Regions from separate parts of the Homo sapiens genome. Here region 1 is linked to region 2. The links are contacts of gene promoters, found by promoter capture Hi-C in blood cells and fetal thymus (Javierre and others, 2016). All regions are on one chromosome and are shown on one strand. The core of a region is centred on a gene start or on the middle of the fragment in contact, and the rest is flanking DNA. Distances in the headings are between cores, read along the strand shown. Region 1 overlaps SEL1L (SEL1L adaptor subunit of SYVN1 ubiquitin ligase). Region 2 holds the start of SNW1 (SNW domain containing 1).

Region 1 (6,814 bases), core at 1,519-4,018, 3.8 Mb before region 2:
TGTTTCTTGGAGTTTGAAAACACGTTTTGCTACTCTAATGCCTAACAGCTTGTGCTGTGTGAAATGTACATGTCTTTAAGTGTATTTACAGATGTGTCCATATGATTCACCTGTTAGCTACCTATGTAACCTGTTGTGGTGAGGTACTAAATGTAGCAATGTAGTGATAGTGATTTAGAGTTCCAGCTAATCTAAAGTTTCATTCAGTATTTGGGGGTATTTCATATATGTTTAAACATTTAATATCTGTTTTGATATATTAACTAGTTGAAGTTTGTGATTAATTACATATACTTACAGTACAACTTTGATATATTATAGAGATGGGTTTTTTAAATTTATCTAAAGATTTGCTGAGAATGGAATTTGAACCACATGTTAGAAATTGGGCTTTGGGTAATACTTGTGAAGAAGTTAGCATGAAGGACAATTGTTAATTAACTGACATCATTGCCTAATGTTATGGGCGCTGTGGGACTAATATGTGGCATACCCTTCTCTCCACCTGCCAGAAGTAAAACATACTTTGAAGGTAATCTAAAAGTAGGTGAATATGAATAGTAGCTGTAATTTAAATTTTCTTTGACTTGACAGCACTTTCATATATGGCAAAACCTCACTAATGGACTAGTTTCCTCAAATATTCGAAAGAAATATTGTGAGGTAGTGTCTTGTATTTTGTGCATAATTGAGTTGGTTATACTTCTTAGTCTTAACTCAGTACTTTGATAACAAACTCTAACACAGGTTTTTTGTTATATTTTAGAGTTGCAAATTACAAATGATATTTAGGATATAGCCATATGAAGTAAAGTATAAATGACAACTATAGTAGCAAATTTTCTAGTAAAAAATGACATGGTCTTACAGGGTTTTGTCTACTGGTTAATTTCTCATACAGCTTATGGAGCAGGTAAAACTGAAACTCACTCCTGAATAAAATCAGGTAATTTTAAGAGCAAGAGGGAAACTTAAAGATGATCTGACAGATTCGCTGTTTTAAACTGGCAAGGAATACAAAAATCAAGCATTTCCATCTGAACATTGAGTTGTTGCATGTGTTTATGTAAGAGCAGGAAGAAGAGTAACAAGCAGCCAGAAAAGTAATAGTCAGAAAACATGGAAAAAGTAACAGAAGGAAAATTAATGTAATCAGACAACACCAAAGCAGGCTGTGTGAATGTGTAAGCAAGGTGTAACCGGTGGCTGTTTTTCATTGTTTAATGTAAGTTATTGATTTCTTACTACATAGCTCTCAATTGAGTGAATATATGATAGGACCATGCTGCTTTTTACCTGCATCTGGTTATCTCTGAGTAGAGTAGAACACAAATCCTAAATATAATTGTTTTGCAACTCTGCTATCAAATAATAATTCTTAGTTTCCATCCTTACTATAGTAGTAAACAATACAAATACTAATGAGCACTAAAATGGGCTACTCTAACTCAAGATCCTGAGCAGACAAACAGAATAGGTGGAAGCCCGGAGTATGAAATTAGAGATTTATTTTTATGAACTTAGTAACTCATTCTCAGAAATAGACTAAATAGACCCACAAGAATTGGATGGAATGTGAAGAAATACCTGTTTTTGTTGGTGGAGGCTGTTGGTCTTCCTACCTTTGTAACAGATGGAGCTAATGTCTTTTCTGGAGAAAGAGAGAAACTAAACCCCCAACCCATTTTTTTTTTCCTTTCACTTGATCTTTTCTGAACAATTGCTGAATATAGCTAACTTTAAAATAATTCTATGTTTATTTATCCAATGTTTGATTATTATTTGCTATACTTTTCACATGTTTTCTTTTAATAATAACTAATTTCCCAACAAGAAAGATTACTAAATTGTCTTAAAATTTCTTTGCAGATGAAGAAGGCAGCCAGGATGAATCCTTAGATTCCAAGGTATGTACTAAAATGTGTATTGGCCAGTATTTGCTGCCTGATTTAAAAGGATGAATTATGTATCTTAGAAAGGATATGAGGTCTGCAACTTTTGAGTAACAGTTGAATTAAAAAGGACAGAAAAAGACAGATGGTATTAGTATTAGTTCTAGTTTTTCTGGAGGAAGAAAAAATTACTGACCTACAAGAGGGAATAGTAAATATTTCATTTCAACTTGAATGTGCTCTGTGTGTGTGTGTGTGTGTGTGTGTGTGTGTGTGTAAGTTTGAAGATTTAACCTGTGTCATTTGTTTCCACTTTCCAGTTCTCAAAAATAAATCCAGTGAGCTAATGCACTTATTGGTTGATTGAGCTCTCCCTTCCAAGTACTAACCAAGCCCAACCCTGCAGTCAGTTATGAGCTCTGATCTTTAGATTTGAGGGAATGTAGATAAAAGCAGGAAGTAGAAGTATAAGGTATGTTGGGGGCATGTGGAGGAAAACCGAACCCAGACTTTGGGAATTAAGGAAGGCTTCTGGGGGAAGTAACATCTAAGTTGAAATTCAAAAAGGCTACAAGTTAGGTGATGAAGGAAGGCACGTGATGGACACATGCCAAAGCCTATAGAGATGAGTGAGTGTGGCACTTCAAGGAGCTGAAGGAGATGTGATATCTGGATTAGTAAAAATAACGGTCAAATAGGGTTGGGGAAAGTCTTGGCATTGTTGATAACTAAAAATACTTTATATTCTCAGACTACTTTGACATCAGATGAGTCAGTAAAGGACCATACTACTGCAGGCAGAGTAGTTGCTGGTCAAATATTTCTTGATTCAGAAGAATCTGAATTAGAATCCTCTATTCAAGAAGAGGAAGACAGCCTCAAGAGCCAAGAGGGGGAAAGTGTCACAGAAGATATCAGCTTTCTAGAGTCTCCAAATCCAGAAAACAAGGACTATGAAGAGCCAAAGAAAGTACGGAAACCAGGTAGTCTGGACATTTTCCTTGCTTTTTGATTTATTTAGGGGACAACTGAAAATTTTAAGCTAATGAATAAAGAGGCTGAAGAAGACTGGCTTCACTGATTATTACCCACAAATAATATATGGAGTGTAGTTTGGAGAGAATTTCTAGATTTTAATATACCAAAGTTATTCACTTAACAGATTTGACCCAAGTTACATAAGCTGAATTCAATAGATGAGATTGCATTTATCTTTTTATTAATATCCTGACGTTTCTTTTTGGAATCAAGTATGTAAATACATTTCTCACTGAGAAATTTAAAAAAATAATATGTCAGGGTAGCATACAAAACAGAAACTCAGGAAGAACTGTCTAACATGCCACTATGGTTATTTTCAGGATTGTGGTAGGATTATTACTACAATAACCTTGTCGATCATCCTAGGTAATTTGATTTAGGTGTTTATCCCTCAGCTGACGCTTGTGTGTACTTCCATCCTATTCTAACTTTCACAATCTTGAAACCTCTACTTTTCAATTTAAAACTTGACCTTTTTCACAATAGTCTTCTAAATATTAATCCTTTTAAAAATTATTAATGTATGCATTCTACCATGTCTTGTTGCCCTTCTGTCATTTATTATTTCAATGATCACTGCCTTATCTGTTTATTATTCCATTACTAACCACTCTCAGGAACTGATCCAAATTTGAACTTTTTAAAAAAATAGAATTTTTTTTTACTACAAATATACCATTCTCATGAATAGAAAACTATTTTTAAAAAATTAAAAGTACCTGAATCCCATCAACTAGAAATAACAGCTGCTCACATCATGGAGAATATTCTCTCAGGATTTTTTTAGGTGTATCAGTAGTTTTAAGAAAAGTAAATTGGGTCAAAATGTGTATTCTATGTTGCAGCCTGCATTTTGCACTTAACAGTTTACCATGAATGTTTTTCCATGTCATTTAGCTTATTTTCAATTTGATAGTTAATGGCTATAAAAAATTTTATTTGTAAATATATGGTACCATAAACCAAAACGTTTATGTTTTGCTGGGAGATCATTTTAGATGTATCTTTGTGCCTATCTGTGAAAATTTCCTTAGAATTCTTAAAGTAAATTTGCTGAATTGGATGTAAAAGTTTAAAAGACAGTAGATACACATTGTTAAATTGTTCTTCAGAAAAGTGATTCTGTTTACTTCCTCTGAAAATACCTCTTTCCCTGTACCTCACCCAAGTGTGTATTACCATTTTAAAATTTTTACTAAATATAATTTAATTCATTCTTCATTTTTTAATTAGGGATTTTTTTTTTTTTTTTTTAGTTTTTATATTTTTAGAGACATGGTCTCACTCTGTCACTCAGGCTGGAGTGCAGTGGCACGATCATAGTTCACTGCAGCCTTGAACTCAGGTGATCTCCCTCTTTGGCCTCCCAAAGTGCTGGGATTACAGGCATGAGACACTACATCAAGCCTGGGAAATTTTTAAACATGCATAAAAGTAGAGGGTAAAATGACACCCCTTACCAACCCTCACTCAGCTTCAATAAACATCAACATTCTGCTGGTCTTTTCATCTTTACTACCCTACACACATTTGCCCTTTTTTTCTTTCCTAGAATATTTTAAGGCAAATTCCGCATGTGCTTTTACATCTCTGTGTCTCTCTCTAGTAAGAATGTTCTTTTCAGCAAAATCACAGAATTAGCCATTACTCCTTTATTACCTAATACCCAGACTGTTTAATTTTTCTAGTTGCTTCAAGTGTCTGTTTACAATTTATTTGTTTGAATTCATTTCTAAGCTAAGACCTAGGTTTCTCTTAATCTGTTGCTGTTCTCCCTCTTTTGTTGTTGTTCTTTTTTTTTGAGACAGAGTCTTGCACTGTTGCCCAGTCTGGAGTGCAATGGCATGACCTTGGCTTACTGCAGCCTCCACCTCCCGGGTTCAAGAGATTCTCCTGCCCCAGCCTCCTGAGTAGCTGGGATACCAGGCGCGTACCACCATGCCTGGCTAATTTTCTTCTATTTTTAGTAGAGTTGGGGTTTCACCATGTTGGCCAGGCTGGTCTCGAACTCCTGACCTTAAGTGATCTGCCCACCTTGGCCTCCCACAGTGCTGGGATTACAGGCGTGAGCCACCGCACCCAGCCCCTCCTTTGTTTTTAAGTGTCATTTTATTTGCTAAAGAAATATGCAGTATCCTTTGTGCTATACAGTTTCCCACGTTTTGGATCTTGCTGGTCATGAACTTGTAATGTCATTGAGCTTGTTCCATTATCTGCTGTTTATTCTATAAACTGGGAGTTAGTTCTAGAGACATGGGTAGATTTGGTTCTGTCTTTTTATTGAGAGTATTTCATAGGTAGGTGGTGGTGTGTACTTTCTGTTGCTTTACATTGAGAGACATGTAGTGTCTGATTTTTCCACTTTTACTGATGTTAAGATTAATTAGCGAGGTCAGGTGGTATCACCCTGATCTCACCATTCTAAAGTTCCTCATTAATCTTTTGCCTAGGGGTTTTGGCAACCATTTATGTTTGTTGCCTGGATCTTTTAATTATTAGGGGTTGCAAAATGGTGACTTTCTAATTCTACCATTCCTCCTGCATTTGTTACCTGGGATTCTTTTATAAAGAATTTTCTCTCATCAAGTCTTTGATTACCCTGAAATATAGTCTCATCCAGAGAAAGCTAGATAAATTCTTATTTCCTTTGCACTGTTGTGAAATGAAAATTTGGTGCCCAAGCAATCTCTGAAAGAGACTAATGAGTATGTTTTTGTTTGTTTGTATTTGTTTTGTTTTGCTTTGTATTTGAGCATTGTAAGGATATAGTAAAAACCAAACCAAGGTGTGTTTTTCTTTCTCTTTCTCACTGAGTTAACACTTCTGACACCAGATATGTTGTGGGTATTTCCCCACATACCAAGTAAGCAATCAGTTCTGCAGAGGATTCTCCATCAGAGACCAGCAGGATGTCTGCTGATTTAATTCAATTCTGACACTACCTGGAGATAGCATTAGATCTCACAAGTTTAGGGCTCAGTCTCACAAGACCAGTCCCCGCTACTTGAGATGCCAATCATAAGCCCCGGGTTGTCTGTGCTTCTGACAGACTGGCTATAAATCAGGGTTCCCACAACCCCCTTCTTGGGTTCAATTAATTTGCTAGCACTTAGGACTCTGGGAAGCATGATAAATGGGTAAATGTAAATATAAATTTACATTTATTATAAAGGATATTACAAAGGATAGAGACGAAAAGCCAGATGGAAGAGAGGTGTAGGGCAAGGTATGGGAGAAGGACTGCAGAGCTTCCATGCCCACTCTGATCTGATCACGCCACCCACCTTCCAGGAATCTCCATGTGCTCAGCTTTCCAGAAACTCCCAGAACTCAGCTATTTTGGGTTTTTATGGAAGCTTTGTTATGCAGGCATAATTGATTAAATCATTGCGCGTTGATTTATTGGCTCAACTTTTAGCTCCTCTGCCCTTCTGAGGTTGGGGGATGGGACTGTAAATTCTAACCCTCTAATCTAATCTAATGGTTGGTTTCCCTGGCAACCAAGTCCTATCCCAAGGCTCTCTAGGAACCTCCAGCCACCAATTTTCTCATTATCATACAGAAGACATTCTTATCACTCAAGAGATTTCAGGGATTTTAAGAGCTATGTTTCTGGAAACGGATGAAGATCAAATATTTTTTTCACAATATCACAAGCATCATTATGAATTCATGGATTCTTACATACATGTCAGCCCTCTGTATCCATGGATTCAACCAAATATTTGAAAATATTTGGAAAAAATGGGTGGTTGCAACTGTACTGAACATGTCCACACTTTTTGTTCTTGTCATTATTCCCTGAACAATGTAGCGTAACTATTTACATAGCATTTCCATTATATTAGGTATTAGAAGTAGTCTAGGGATGATGTAAAACA
Region 2 (7,014 bases), core at 178-2,677:
AACCCCTGGGGCCATGACTATGAAGATTCTGATTCTGTTATGCGGTGTGGCAGAGTTGATTTTTTTTTTTTTTTTGAGACAGAATTTTACTTTGTCACCCACGCTGGAGTGCAATGGTGCAATCTCGGCTCACTGCAACCTCCACCTCCTGGGTTCAAGCGATTCTTGTACCTCAGCCTCCCAAGTAGCTGAGAAAACAAGAGCACATCACCACACCCAGCTATTCTTTTATATTATTTATTTATTTATTTATTTATTTATTTTTATTTTTTGAGACGCAGTCTCACTCTGTCGCCAGGCTGGAGTGCAGTGGCGTGATCTTGGCTCACTGCAACCTCCGTCTCCTGATTCACACGATTCTCCTGCCTCAGCCTCCCCAGTAGCTAGGACTACAGGAGCGCGCCACAACGCCCAGCTAATTTTTGTATTTTTAGTAGAGACAGGGTTTCACCATGTTGCCCAGGCTTTGTCGAACTCCTGAGCTCAGGCAATCCGCCCGCCCCGACCTCCCAAAGTGCTAGGATTACAAGTGTGAGCTACTGCGCCCGGCCAAGAGTTGATCTTAAAATAGGGAGATTATCCAGGTGCTCCTGATCTAATCACATGAGCCCTTTAAAAGCAGGGCATTTTTCTCCAACAGTGGCAGAAGAGGAGTCAGAAAGATGTGCCTCAGAAAGCAAATATCCATGTTGTGAACTACCAATAAATAGGGCTCATGTGGGAAGGACTCGAGAGTGACCCCTAGGAGCTGAGGGTGGCCACCACTAACAGCACAAAACAAAACAGGGAACTCGATCCCACAACCGCCAGGAACTGATTTTTGCCAACAAGAATGAGTTAGGAGATGGATTTTTCTCCAGAGCCTCCTATGAGATTTCAGCCTTGTCATACCCTGGGCAGAGAACCCAGACACTCGGTAAATTACCAAGGATTACGAAATATCTCCCCAAGAGAGTGTTTTGGCGGGTGAGAGGATATGGTTTAAAGAAAAGTTTTGAGTGTGAATGTTTTCAGAGAGTCCAAGGACTCTCCATTAGCTAGTCTCATTATTACCTGTCGTTTTAAACGCCCTATCACTCTTACTTAAAGTAGCTGTCCCCGGGAAGCTTTTGTATTTTGTACCCCTTCTCGGGGAACGGGACTGAGTAAGGAACGTAATAAAGCGGCCTAAAAGGCATCTCCCTGTATCTTTGATATTTTGCCTAGGGAACGCCCTATCATGTCGCATATAAGCGATCGAGTTATGCATTTGTTGCTAGCTGAAGAGATTATTCCTTGATAACCGCTTGGTCTGGTCAGAATACAAACGGTACTCCTGTTCAAAGAACTACAAATCCCAGAAGGCCTTTTCGGCCAGAGCGCCTGCGCATCGCGCACTCCTTCCTTTCCGCTCCTCATCATCTGGAAAGACCCGCCCAGCGGTGCTGTCGCTCGCGCTGGAAGAAGCGGAAGAAGATGGCGCTCACCAGGTGGGTTGTTGATTGGGGTCCTCGATACGGAAGGGTCTGGGAGTACCAGTCTTCTTCATTTCTCTTCCCATACCCTCCGGGCGGTGACCTGACCCGGGGCACAGAATGACGTGGGCCAAGACTACGGCTACGCCCTCCCGCTGGCCGCCGCTACGACTAGGCCTAGTCGAAGCTGGGGTCTTTCAGCGGTTTCCCGGGTTTAGTTCACCCGCTCACCGAGGCCGAAAGCTGCGGAGTGGTCTCAGACACTGAAGAGTGGGTTTTTCGCGTGAGCATCTTGCGGGGAGCGGACAGCGCTCCCTCAGGTCCGCGGCTCGGGCGAACGAGATGGGGTTGGTGACGGTAGTGGCTTATTTGGGCGGAGTGAAGCGCGCGGGCTGCGACTGCGCGGCTTTCCGGCCGTTTGCCTGTGGTGGTCTCTCTCCTTTCGCTGTCCACTGGGTGTCCCGAAACAAGGATTCCTGAAAAAAGAGGCCCGGAGCTGAACACAGATTTAAATGAGCCACAGTAGTGACCGCCGTCTGCTGATATGCGCCACTGCTCCGCATTTTAACTTTGGAGCTTAGAATTTCTTCCGTAGATAGAACCACCTCAGTTTTGCTGTTTCCGGTTACCTTAGTAACCGTCTGTAAAGTGCTCTCCGCCTTTAAGAAAAAGATGCTTTTCAGTGGGAGAGTCCGAGAAGTTACGCTACTCCTACTAGTTCCCAGCCTTGCTGCCCCATTTTAAGTGGAAAAACTTTCCATGCGAACTCAACAGGAAAAGGCTAGTGTTCAGGAAGGTTATAGATAAAGTAATCCTTTCAGGACATCAGCTTGAGCTCTTTTAACACCCTTCATTCTCCTCACGCATGTTTTTTTTTCTGGCTGATGACAGTATGACTCCAAAAGTTTTAATCAAAAAATTATTTTGGGAATTACTGTTGGTGCCTTGCTCTGTCCTGGGGGTTGTGTACACAGAAGAAAATCTGTCTTTGGCAACAGGGAAGATAGGGGTGCAAGGTATACAGACATAAAACAATTACAGAACACAAAATGTGCATTTGTGTAATACTAACCTTAGTGCAAAAAGAATTGAATGGAATAAGTTATGTGGGCTGGAGAGTTTTCTCCCCACCCTCGTTTCTAAAATTTTTTTGCTTTTTTTTTTAACTTTATTTTTTGAGATGCGGTCTCGCTGTGTTGGCCAGGTTGGTCTTGAATTCTTGGCCTCAAGCAGTCCTCCTGTCTCGGCCTCCGAAAGTGCTAGGATTACAGGCATGAGCCACCATGCCCGGCATCTGAAATTTTTTTAAAAAAAAACTAGAAATAGGGTGTTACTGCGTTGGCCAGAGTGGTCTCCAACTCTTGGCCTCCATCAATCTTCTCACCTAGGCCTCCCAAAGTGCTGGGATTGCAGGCATGAGCTACCATGCCCAGCCAAGAGTTTGTTTAGTAAATGTTACAGGCAGCAAACATTTGAGTGCTCCCCAGGTGTGAGACACTGTGTCATAGACTAGTAAAGTTATGAGGGGAGACTTTGTGGAAAAGGTGGAATTTGAAATGGACACACAGGAAAAATTTCTAGAGATGTCATGGGTATTTTTTATTTATTTTATTTTTTGATATAGGGTCTCACTCTTGCCCAGGCTGGAGTGCAGTGGCCCAATCACAGCCCACTGCAGCCTCAACCTCCCAAGGCTCAGGTGATCCTCCTGCCTCAGCGCCCTAGAGTAGCTGGGACTCTAGACGCTTGCCATGATGCCCAGTTAATTTTTGTTTTTTTTAGTAGAGATGGGGTTTTGCCATGTTGCCCAGCCTGGTCTTGAACTGGGCTTAACTGATCTGATCTACCCATCTCAGCCTCCCACAGTGCTGGCATTACTGGCGTGAGCCACCACATCATCTGGCCTGTCATGGGTATTGCGTGCTTAAAATTGCAGTGGCAGAATGCGATCTTTAAATGGCCAGTCTTGAGGACTCCAGAGCTTTCCATACCTACCATCTGGTGTTCCTCAGTATTCTTTGTAATATCCTTTAAATCAGTAAACACATTTCCCTGAGTTCTGTGAGCTGCCCTAGCAAATTAGTTGAACCTGAAGATGAGGTCATGGGAACCCTGGTTTGTAGTTAGTTGGCCAGTGGCCTTGGACCTACTGTTGGCATCTGAAGTAAGGGCAGTCTTGTGGGACTGAGCCTTCAACCTGTAACATCTGACAGTATCTCCAGGTAGATAACATCAAAATTGAATTGAATTAGAGGACACTTGACTGGTGTCCAGTAGACACAGTTGATAGCTTGCTTGATATGTGGGGAAAAACCATCACACATCTGGTATCAGAAGTGTTGTGTGTTGTTGATTGTTGAGTGAAATAATAGGAGAAACTGAGTTTGTTTTAATTTTATACTCTATCCACATGGAGCTTACACTCTAATGGGACAGAATTGGAATTCTAGTGGGACAGAATTCTAATTAGCTTACATTCTAATGGGACAGAGTGAGTAAAATCATAATGCAATTTCACGTAATACATGCTAGGAATAAAATAAAGACCGGGTTAGAGAGTGACTCAGAGTTTGGGGTGAAGTGGCTATTTTGGGTAAGGTGGTCAGAAAACAGCTCTAGAGAGAGGTAACTGAGCAGAGACAAGAGTGCTGAGATGCAAGCTGTTGAAAGATCTGGGGCTACTCTAGGCATACTGCCTGTGGGATAGCCCTGCCCAGCAAGGAGCAATCAAAAAAGAAAAGATCTGGAGATCTGGAGAAGAATTTTCTATAAAAGCATACGAAAATTTGTTCTTTTTTTTTTTTTTTTTTTTTGTGGCAGAGTCTCACTCTCACCCAGGCTGGAGTGCAGTGGAGCAATCTCAGCTCACTACAAACTCCACCTCCCAGGTTCAAGTGATTTTCCTGCCTCAGCTGGGATTACAGGCGTCCGCCACCACGCCCGGCTAATTTTTGTGTTTTTAATAGAGACAGGGTTTCACTATATTGGCATGGCTGGTCTCGAACTCCTGGCCTCAAGTAATCCACCTGCCTTGGCCTCCCAAAGTGTTGGAATTACAGGTGTGAGCCACCTCGCCCAGCCGGAAAAATTGTGATTGATTGCAATAGATAGATAGATAGAGAAAAATTGTGATTGATTGATTGCAATAGAGAAAAATTGTGATTGATTGATTGCGATAGATAGATAGATAGATAGATAGATAGATAGATGATTAGATTGATTTGATGGCAGAAGGAATAGCCAATGTAAAGATCCTGAGATGGCTTGTTTAAGAAAAGATAAGAAGGCTGTAGTGAAATAAAGATGGTGAGTGCTGGGGAAGAGTGTATTTATTTCTCCTACAACATTTAAGGAGCTCGAGCTGTGAGCTAGAAGTCTTGGAGCATTAGGGATGAAAGAAGCATAAGGCGTGATTCCTGCAGAGCTGCTCACAGTCTCATGAAAACAGAATAGTTAAATGAGTAGATGATTGCAATACAGTAAGGTAATGTTGTAGTAGTGGTATGTAGAGCGTTTTGGGGGAGCATAGAGACAGGCAGTTAACCCAAACTGGAGGAGTCATGGAACAGCCCTGAAATAATCAAACATACAGAACCTGTATTGAAAGTGTCTAGATACTATACCAACTGGTTCATGGATTTCTCTCATTTAATACTTATAAGAACCTTATGAAGTAGATACTCTTATGAACTATTATTACAGATGAGAAAACAGATTCAGAGAGGTAAGTAGCTTATCCAGGTTAGTAAGTGGCATAGGTCGGATCTGAATTCTGAGCCTAGCCATCACTTACCTCCCCAGACTGGATTAGATCCCTCTCATGTAGACTGTCATAGCATCTATATTTTTCCATCATAACTTAACATAATGTGTAATTATAGATTTGTGTGATTTTTTTTTTTTTGGTCTCTGTCTGCAAGACTAAGCTGTCTTTCTCCATTTATAGTCTCATGCCTAGCATAGTGCTTGTACCCAAATAATAAATATTTTTGAATAATTAATAAGCTCTGCTACTTAGGTATGCTTACTATCCAAGAATCACAAAGGAACTAAGGTTATTTTCTCCATATTCATCCATCAGGATCCTTTTGTAATACTTTGGAGTATCACTGTAATACTTTAATACTTAAAAGTTGTTAAGAACCATTTAGTAGAAAGGTTACCTTGACTAAAGAATAAGCTGCATCTTCAGGGCTTCTGCTTTGATTCTTTGGCCTCTAAGGGTTTTTTTGTTGTTGTTTGTTTGTTTGAGATGGAGTTTTGCTGTTGTTGCCTAGGCTGGAGTGCAATGGTGCAATCTTGGCTCACTGTACCCTCCACCTACCGGATTCAAGTGATTCTCCTGCCTCAGCCTCCCGAGTGGGATTACAGGCGCACACCAGCACGCCTGGCTAATTTTGTATTTTTAGTAGAGACAGGGTTTCACCATGTTGATCAGGCCGGTCTTGATCTCCTGACCTCAAGTGATCCACCCACCTCGGCCTCCCAAAGTGCTGGGATTACAGGTGTGAGCCACCATGGCTGGCCTGGCCTCTAAGTTTTAAATTTCATTGTAGATACCCTTGACACTTAAATATGCAACTTGTGTTTATTTTATCCACCTCTTTTTTACATTCAGTTTTAATCCTAGTTCTTTTGTATTTACACTGAAGTAGTTTAAAGTAAGGAGCATAATGGTAAAAATGTTAAAAACAAGGAGTAGCCAGGCGTGGTGGCTCATGCCAGTAATCCCAGTACTTTGGGAGATGGAGGCTGATGGATCACTTGAGGTCAGGAGTTCGAGACCAGCCTGACCAACATGGGCCAACATGGCAAAAACCAGTCTCTACTAAAAATACAAAAAATAGGGATGTGGTGGCATGCACCTGTAATCCCAGCTACTCGGGAGGCTGAGGCATGAGAATCACACGAATCCAGGCGACAGAGGTTTCAGTGAGCCGAGGTTGCACCACTGCACTCAAGGCTGGGCGACAGAACGAGACTCTGTCTCAAAAAAAAAAAGGAGTATAAGAATAGCAAGTATATACTGGACAGTTTATCCCTGAAGTATTAGGAATGTTTACTTGTTTGTTATAAGAAATATGGAAACAGGCTGGGCGTGGTGGTTCACACCTGTAATCCTAGCACTTTGGGAGGCCGGGGCGGGCACATCACCTGCGGTCGGGAGTTCGAGACCAGCCTGGCCAACATGGCGAAACCCTGTCTCTACTAAAAATACAAAAATTAGGTGGGCGTGGTGCTGCACATCTGTAATCCCAGCTACTTGGGAGGGTGAGGCAGGAAAATCACTTGAACCCAGGAGGTGGAGGCTGCAGTGAGCTGAGATGGTGCCACTGCACTCTAGCCTAGGTGACACAGAGAGACTCTGTCTCAAAAAAAAAAAAGGAAAGAAATATGGAAATACGGAAGCATGGCCAGGTGTGGTGGCACACGTCTGTAATTCCAGCACTTTGGGAGGCCAAGGTCAGCGGATCACTTGAGGTCAAGTTCAAGACCAGCCTGGCCAACATGGTGAAACCCCATCTCTACTAAAATTGCAAAAATTAGCCTGGTGTGGTGG

Evidence for each region. Contacts are between HindIII fragments. The CHiCAGO score rates a contact against its expected background, and 5 or more counts as called.
Region 1: a contact is called between a fragment that was not itself captured here and the fragment with the promoter of SNW1 in region 2, in 1 of 17 cell types (non-activated CD4 T cells). The highest score is 5.5, in non-activated CD4 T cells.

The regions. Positions count from the first base shown.
Region 1 is chr14:81,522,794-81,529,607 of GRCh38, reverse strand. SEL1L (SEL1L adaptor subunit of SYVN1 ubiquitin ligase) reads left to right here. Exons shown (of 21, transcript NM_005065.6): 2 at 1,870-1,907; 3 at 2,644-2,875. Among named protein-coding and RNA genes, the nearest start is that of SEL1L, 7.7 kb to the left of the region's middle. The HindIII fragment of the contact is 7,046 bases long and covers 1-6,291 here.
Region 2 is chr14:77,755,569-77,762,582 of GRCh38, reverse strand. It overlaps SNW1 (SNW domain containing 1), which reads left to right and starts at 1,427. Exons shown (of 14, transcript NM_012245.3): 1 at 1,427-1,469. The coding sequence starts at 1,456. It overlaps SLIRP-OT1 (SLIRP overlapping transcript 1), which reads right to left and starts at 1,815. Exons shown (of 2, transcript NR_161324.1): 1 at 1,467-1,815. RefSeq lists enhancers at 1-688, 1,236-1,555, 1,463-2,237. The HindIII fragment of the contact is 7,128 bases long and covers 1,109-7,014 here.